2 separate regions of the Homo sapiens genome follow, and region 2 is linked to region 1. Evidence: promoter capture Hi-C in human tissues and cell types (Jung and others, 2019). All regions are on one chromosome and are shown on one strand. The core of a region is centred on a gene start or on the middle of the fragment in contact, and the rest is flanking DNA. Distances in the headings are between cores, read along the strand shown.

Region 1 (3,401 bases), core at 497-2,996:
GTAAAATGGGGACAACAGTCCCATTTCACTGGGTACTGGGGTGGGGGGGTGGAATCAAATGGGAGACTGTTCATGAAAATGCTCTGTATATTAGAGGATTTTTTTCCAACGTAAAGAGGCTAAAAATAAGGCCTGATGACTAAACTAACATATACACTATCACATTTTGGGGGTGGGGAGTGTCTTCCTTGGAAGTGATGGAAATTTGCATTGAGTGCCTGGCATGGATCACCTGACTTAATTCTCCCGACAGTCCTAAGCCGACCCTGGGTTTCAGAGAGGTTTAGTAATTTTACCATTATCCCTCAGCTTGTAAGCCTGGAGCTAAGCCCCTTCCTCTCCTGGGCCGGGGGGCTTTCTGACAATTTAGGGTGCTAGTCTCCAAACTCGCCTGCTGGTGGAGCTTGTTAAATAGATCCATTCTGGATCCCCATTCTGCACCCCCTGAGTGATGGGTTGTATTAATCCAGGTATTTATTGAACACAAATTATGTGCCCACGATGAGGGAAGAGCAAACAAAGCAGATACAGCACCACCCTCAGGGATTGGGGAGTGGCAGCAACCCTCCTGGGGAGAGGTCCCCAGAATCTGGATGTGTACTCGAGACTTTTATGATCAGGCCAGTGTTTGGGGAATGGTGGTTATAAAATGAGAGGCTGGGGCAGGGAGTGGGGATGTTCTGAGAACCTGTCCACACACTGACAGCCTCAATGGGTTCTGTGGCACCCCTGAGCCCTGGGATGGCAACTGCAAGAATTTACTATCCATGGTCACAGATCTTCAGGCCCTGTGAAGCATCCAGATCCCCGCTCTGAATAGGCCAACTGGGCCAGGACCGGGAGTCAGGAAGGTTTCCGCCTTTTTTTTTTTTTTTTTTTTTTTGAGATGGAGTCTTGCTCTGTCGCCCAGGCTCCAGGCTGGAGTGCAGTGGCACCATCTCGGTTCACTGAAATCTCCGCCTCCCGGGTTCAAGCGATTCTCCTGCCTCAGCCTCCCACATAGCTGGGATCACTGGCACGCACCACCATGCCCGGCTACTTTTGTATTTTCAGTAGAGACGAGGTTTCGCCATGTTGGCCAGGCTGGTCTCAAACTCCCGACCTCAGGTGATCCGCCTGCTTCGGCCTCCCAAAGTGCTGGGATTACAGGCGTGAGCCACCGCGCCCGGCCCCTGCTTTCTTAAAGAACACGCGGCAGCTGTGTGTTACACGCTATGGCTGAGGTCAAGTGTGAGGGCTGGAATTGCTGACTGCCATGTTCTGGGTCTACTGAAAATAGCTGCCTGGCCTGGGAGGCCCAGTTCAGTCCGGGTGTGGGTCCCGCTTCACCTCCAGAGCAGCGGCAGCCGGTAAGGGTAGAAGCGGCCTTTGGAGAGGGGTCTCTGCAGCGGCCTGGGGACAAGATGAGGGCTCCTTTGAGTCCTGGGGTGCAGGTTATAGTAGCTAAAGGGGAGGTCTGAGACAGTGGGGTCTGGCTCCAAGGTAAAGAAGGAGCAGCAACCAAAAGGCCTGATGCGCAGCGCACCCATCGCAAGCATGGGCAGTGCGTTTAAGACTGGGTGACTCACTTTTTCTCCTATAAAATGGGCGCACGCAGGCCCCAGCTCAGCGCCAGAAGGGGGAGCCCCGGCGCGCCGGCAGAAGACAAAGGAAAAAAGCGTGTTTGCAAACGGGGAAGCGGCGGCGTGCTGCCGCGAGGGGCGGGGCGGGGCCGGGGGAGGAGCCCGCCTGCCGCCTGCCAAGCCCAGTGGTCCTGGCCGTGCGCCGGAGGCAGCGGCGGCGTGGCGCAGCGGCGACAGTAAGTGCGGGCCGGCTCGGGCTCTTCCGGCTACGGTCCCGGCCGCCCCCAGACTCGCGCTCAGCGACCTCCCTCCCGGGCCCTGGGGGCGGCTGCGGGCTGCCAGGGGAGCCGCAGGACCCTACCCCATCCGTGGTCCCTTCCCCACCGTCCCTCCTCTCTCTCCTTGCTCTCTGCCACCCCTCTTTCTGGGTCTCTATCTTCTCTTCCCCAAATCCTCTCCCCTCCTCCTCCCTGAGACTGGACCTCACCGCCTGTATGGTGGGGGCCTGGTATGGACCCGTCGGCCCGAAGTATCCAGACGGTGGCTGATTCTCTCGGTCCCAGCTGCGGGGCCTGAGGCTGGGGCTGTTTACACCGCAAAGCCGGTTCTGCCGCGGCCAGTAGGCGGTGCCCTGCGCTTCCCAGTGCCTTCCCACAGGTTAGCCCTACCAGCTCCCCACCCCGGTTCACAGCCCAGGAGATCGAGGCACAGAGGGGCGAGCCACCTAGCCAGAGTCAGGAACCTCCTTGGAACCAGCACCCAGGCTTCCCAGCCCAGATGAGGTTTTGCCGCGGCCCCAGCAGTGCCTGCCTCCTTGTGTGGGGCTGTCTGTCTGTGCATGGCCGGGCTCCCGCAGGTGACCCAGGAGCACGTTCCAGGCCACAGCCAGCTTGTTTTGGGGAAGGTTGGGCACTTCCTTGCCTGCCTTTCTCTTTATTTTTTAATCCAGAAGCCAGCAGCTAGCTTTTATAAAGACTAATAAGACTTTGCTCACTCCAGTGCCCTGGCCTGTGACCCTGGTTAGAGAAAATTCCTGGCTCCTTCTTCAGAAGCTCAGTCAAGCCTTGACAAATAGACGCTAGGAACTGAGAAGGGGGCCCTAGCCAGGTGTGGTCCTGAGTGACAGGGCTGGTGGACCTTCTAGCCGCCCCCACAGGTAGCTGGAGCCTCTGGAAAGAACCACTTGCCGGTTCTCTCTTGTTCTATGTGGGTGGGTCATGATTATTTTTTACATTTTAAACACTAATTTTTAAAATGTAACAAGTGAGCTTGTTACATTTGTACCATTTTGTGCCAGACAAAATAGCATAGACTGGGTGGCTTAAACAAAATTTGTTTCTCATGGATCTGGAGGCTGGGAAGGGCAAGATCAAGGTGCTGGTTGATTTGGTTTCTGATGAGGGCTCTCTTCCTGGCTTGCAGACAGCCTCCTTCTTGCTGTGCCTTCACATGGCTTTTCCTCTATGAGTGGGTGCATGTGGAAAAAGCGATTTTCCACACAGTGAGCTTCCAGACAGTGAGCTTGTTAATGCTGGCCTCCATGCGAATCCAGGCTGGGGAGGGGCTCTGCTAACCAGGGGAGTTTAAAATAGACTTGCTGGCTGGATGCATTGCACTTGGGCATCCAGTGGCCCCCCACCTGCTGGCTCCAGGGTACATGCTACCCCAGCAGGGGAGAATGTCCTGGTCGTGCAGAGTCCGTTCATTCAGCAAACATTGACAAGGGTGCCTGCAGTGTGCCTGGGCCCCTCCCGACTCACTGGCTTCAAGGCTTGCAGGAAGGATGCCTGTACTTGGAACCAGCAGACACAGATTCCCATTCCCAGCCAGTCCTCCCCG
Region 2 (3,653 bases), core at 371-2,870, 560 kb after region 1:
GCAGAGGGGCTCCTCACTTCCCAGTAGGGGCGGCCGGGCAGAGGCGCCCCTCACCTCCCGGACGGGGCGGCTGGCCAGGCGGGGGGCTGACCCCCCCACCTCCCTCCCAGACGGGGCGGCTGGCCGGGCGGGGGGCTGACCCCCCCACCTCCCTCCCAGACGGGGCGGCTGGCCGGGCGGGGGGCTGACCCCCCCACCTCCCTCCCGGACGAGGTGGCTGCCGGGCGGAGACGCTCCTCACTTCCCAGACGGGGTGGCTGCTGGGCGGAGGGGCTCCTCACTTCTCAGACGGGGCGGTTGCCAGGCAGAGGGTCTCCTCACTTCTCAGACGGGGCGGCCGGGCAGAGACGCTCCTCACATCCCAGACGGGGCGTCAGGGCAGAGGTGCTCCCCACATCTCAGACAATGGGCGGCCGGGCAGAGACGCTCCTCACTTCCCAGATGTGATGGCGGCCGGGAAGAGGCGCTCCTCACTTCCTAGATGGGATGGCGGCCAGGCAGAGACGCTCCTCACTTTCCAGACTGGGCAGCCAGGCAGAGGGGCTCCTCACATCCCCGACGATGGGCGGCCAGGCAGAGACGCTCCTCACTTCCCAGACGGGGTGGCGGCCGGGCAGAGGCTGCAATCTCGGCACTTTGGGAGGCCAAGGCAGGCGGCTGGGAGGTGGAGGTTGTAGCAAGCCGAGATCACGCCACTGCACTCCAGCCTGGGCACCGTTGAGCACTGAGTGAACGAGACTCCATCTGCAATCCCGGCACCTCGGGAGGCCGAGGCTGGCGGATCACTCGCGGTTAGGAGCTGGAGACCAGCCCGGCCAACACAGCGAAACCCTGTCTTCACCAAAAAAATACGAAAACCAGTCAGGCGTGGCGGCGCGCGCCTGCAATCGCAGGCACTCGGCAGGCTGAGGCAGGAGAATCAGGCAGGGAGGTTGCAGTGAGCCGAGATGGCAGCAGTACCATCCAGCTTCGGCTCGGCATCAGAGGGAGACTGTGGAAAGAAAGGGAGAGGGAGACCGTGGGGAGAGGGAGAGGGAGAGGGAGCGGGAGCGGGAGCGGAAAAAATATTTAAAGATGATATACAGTCTACAGCAAACCACCAAATGCATCATTTGCAAGTTTAGGCTAATGATAAAAATTTCAAAGGGGCCAGGCACATTTGCTCATGCCTGTAATCCCAGCACTTTGGGAGGCCAAGGAGGGCGGATCACCTGAGGTCAGGAGTTCGAGACCAGCCTGGCCAACATGGTGAAACCCCCGTCTCTACTGCAACTATAACGATTAGCCGGGTATGGTGGCAGGTGCCTGTAATCCCACTTACTCAGGAGGCTAAGGCAGGAGAATCGCTTGAACCTGGGAAGTGGAGGTTGCAGTGAGCCGAGGTCGTGCCATTGCACTCCAGCCTGGGTGACAGAGTGAGAGTCCATCTCAAAAAAAAAAAAAAAAAATTTGAAAGGGGTTTTTTAAAGGGTGCCTGTGGACAAAGTGTGATCACTGTTGTGTGGAAGTGATCCTTTACGATCCCAATCAGATCACACCATTTGCTGTTCACACATCTCCAGTGGCCTCTTTTGCCTTTGAGCATGCCCAGGTCGTTTCCCCCCAGTCTGGAGGCTCTTGCCCTTTGCTCCTGCTCCAGATATTCATTCTGCATCTGCTCCCTAGCAGCTTTCTCTCTGCCATCCTGCCATCTTTTCTTCTTGCCATGCTAGCATATGTTTATTTATGAGTGGCAGCTGTATCTCTAGTCACTAGGTCAGGACCTGGTATATTCTAGGCGCCCTGGAAGCATTCTCCAGAAACAGAGGTGCGGTGAGGAGAGTTTGGATCCAGTTTGGACTGCAGATAAATGTTTGTGAGGCTGGGCATGGTGGCTCACACCTGCAATCCCAGCGCTTTCAGAGGCCAAGGCGGGAGGACCGCCAGAGCCCAGGAGTGAGAGACCAGCCTGTGCAACATAGTGAGACCCCTGTCTAATTATTTTAAAAAAGGTTGTTTGTGAAATGACTGAGCAAGTAAATAATGAAGGAGTGAAGGAACTTGGACTGATGACCTGGAACACCTGTACCCTTCTCCCACTCCAAAAAACCCCTGCCCATCCTCACAATCCAGGGCCAGCATCACTCTTTTTTTCTGGAAGCTTCCTCAGTATCCTGGGTATGGGTCCCCTGTGATTCATGGAGGACCCCCAGTGGGGCTCCCAATGGCACGGCATTACCAGCACCTGCACCTGCTGCCTCCCCAGTCACCCCTGGCTCCCAGGGTTCCATTGCACAGTAGATCCTCTAGAAATGCTTCACAGACATTGATGTGGTGAGGGAGGAGGGACAGGGTAGCAGTCTCACCACCCATTACCCCCACCCCCGCCTCTCATTCAACGAACACTTTGAGCACCTGGCACTTTGATCCCCTCAGTGCCAGGCACTGAGCTCCAAATCCCAGACTCTGTAACGTGCAAGCAATCCTTACTCTTTCTATTTTAATATCTTAACCCATGTATTTATATACCTTGTCAAGTAAAATGTATTCTTTTTTAATGATTCTCAAAAGGATACTCATTGAAAAAATTTAGAAAACACCGAAAAATGCAAGGAAGAAAAATACAATTCTCTTACAATCCTGTATAATCCTGTGCCTCTAGGCCTACAGTCAGCTCCAAGCAACGGCACAGACACCTCCTCCTCCGGATGACCAGGATTGCCTCTGGGTTTGTCACAAGCTGGAACAGGGTCCTTTGGAGGATGGGGCTCTGTGAAGAAAAAGAGGTGAAGTGTTTGGATTCAGTCTGAGCCAAAGGTGAGCGTTATCAGTCCCCGAAAGGCCTCAGGGGTTGGCTGACTCTCTGAGAGGCCGGCAAGACTGGTGAAGTTCTGGAAGGGGACCTGGGGGGTGGGGCCCGGGGACCTGGGGGGTGGGGCCCGGGGACATGGGGGGTGGGGCCCGAGGCCCAGGCAGAGGCCAAACATTGCCCAGGGCCCGGCTTTAGTCTGCAACAACCCTCATTGTTCTCTCACTGTCTCTAGGCCGCTTTATCTGGGTTTAAGGACACAAGACTCCGTGAAAGACAAGCTAGTTCTTCTTCCTGCCCCGGCAGTCCACTGCAGGCCGATGCAGACGCAACCACTTCCTCAGCCGCTGTGGCTGAGAGCCCGCCACTGCACTCTATGGGCTTGGTGCTGGGTATGGAGAGGAGGGTATGACATAGCCCCTGCCCTCAGAGTTTTTTCCTACTCATTATCCCTGCTGTCTCTGGGGACTTCTTAAATGTCAGCAATCATTGTCATCTTCACTGTTGCCTCCGCAGCCACCGCACATGGCTGCACCTGGGCCATCTCCTCTGATGTAAAGGCTGTGCAGCCAAAATTTGCAATTCTTCCCCCAGCTTTTAAAATTGTAGTAAAATATATATAACATAAAATTTGCCAGCTTCACTGTTTGTTAAGTGTACAGTTCAGTGGTATGAAATACACGCATTGTGCTGTGCAAAGTCACCACCACCCATCTCCAGAACTCGCTTTATCTTGCAAAGCAGAAACTCTGTACCCATTAAACGATAACGTCCCATCCCCATCCCCCTTACCCCCAGCCCCTGTAATGCTTGTTCTTTTCTTTTTTTGAGACAGGGTCTCACTCTGTCATGCAGTCTGGAGTGC

Evidence for each region. Contacts are between HindIII fragments. The study calls those that stand out against the background at their distance.
Region 2: a fragment that was not itself captured here is called in contact with the fragment with the promoter of SLC29A3 in region 1 in 2 of the 25 tissues and cell types used here (lymphoblastoid cells and spleen).

The regions. Positions count from the first base shown.
Region 1 is chr10:71,317,513-71,320,913 of GRCh38, forward strand. It overlaps SLC29A3 (solute carrier family 29 member 3), which reads left to right and starts at 1,747. Exons shown (of 6, transcript NM_018344.6): 1 at 1,747-1,798. The coding sequence starts at 1,798. It overlaps LOC124902445 (a long non-coding RNA gene), which reads right to left and starts at 2,151. Exons shown (of 2, transcript XR_007062183.1): 1 at 2,050-2,151; 2 at 457-1,392. RefSeq lists a silencer at 1,544-1,993. The HindIII fragment of the contact is 13,989 bases long and covers 1-3,401 here.
Region 2 is chr10:71,875,690-71,879,342 of GRCh38, forward strand. It overlaps LINC03139 (long intergenic non-protein coding RNA 3139), which reads left to right and starts at 2,398. Exons shown (of 2, transcript XR_007062186.1): 1 at 2,398-2,796; 2 at 3,024-3,418. RefSeq lists an enhancer at 308-1,188. The HindIII fragment of the contact is 7,970 bases long and covers 1-3,653 here.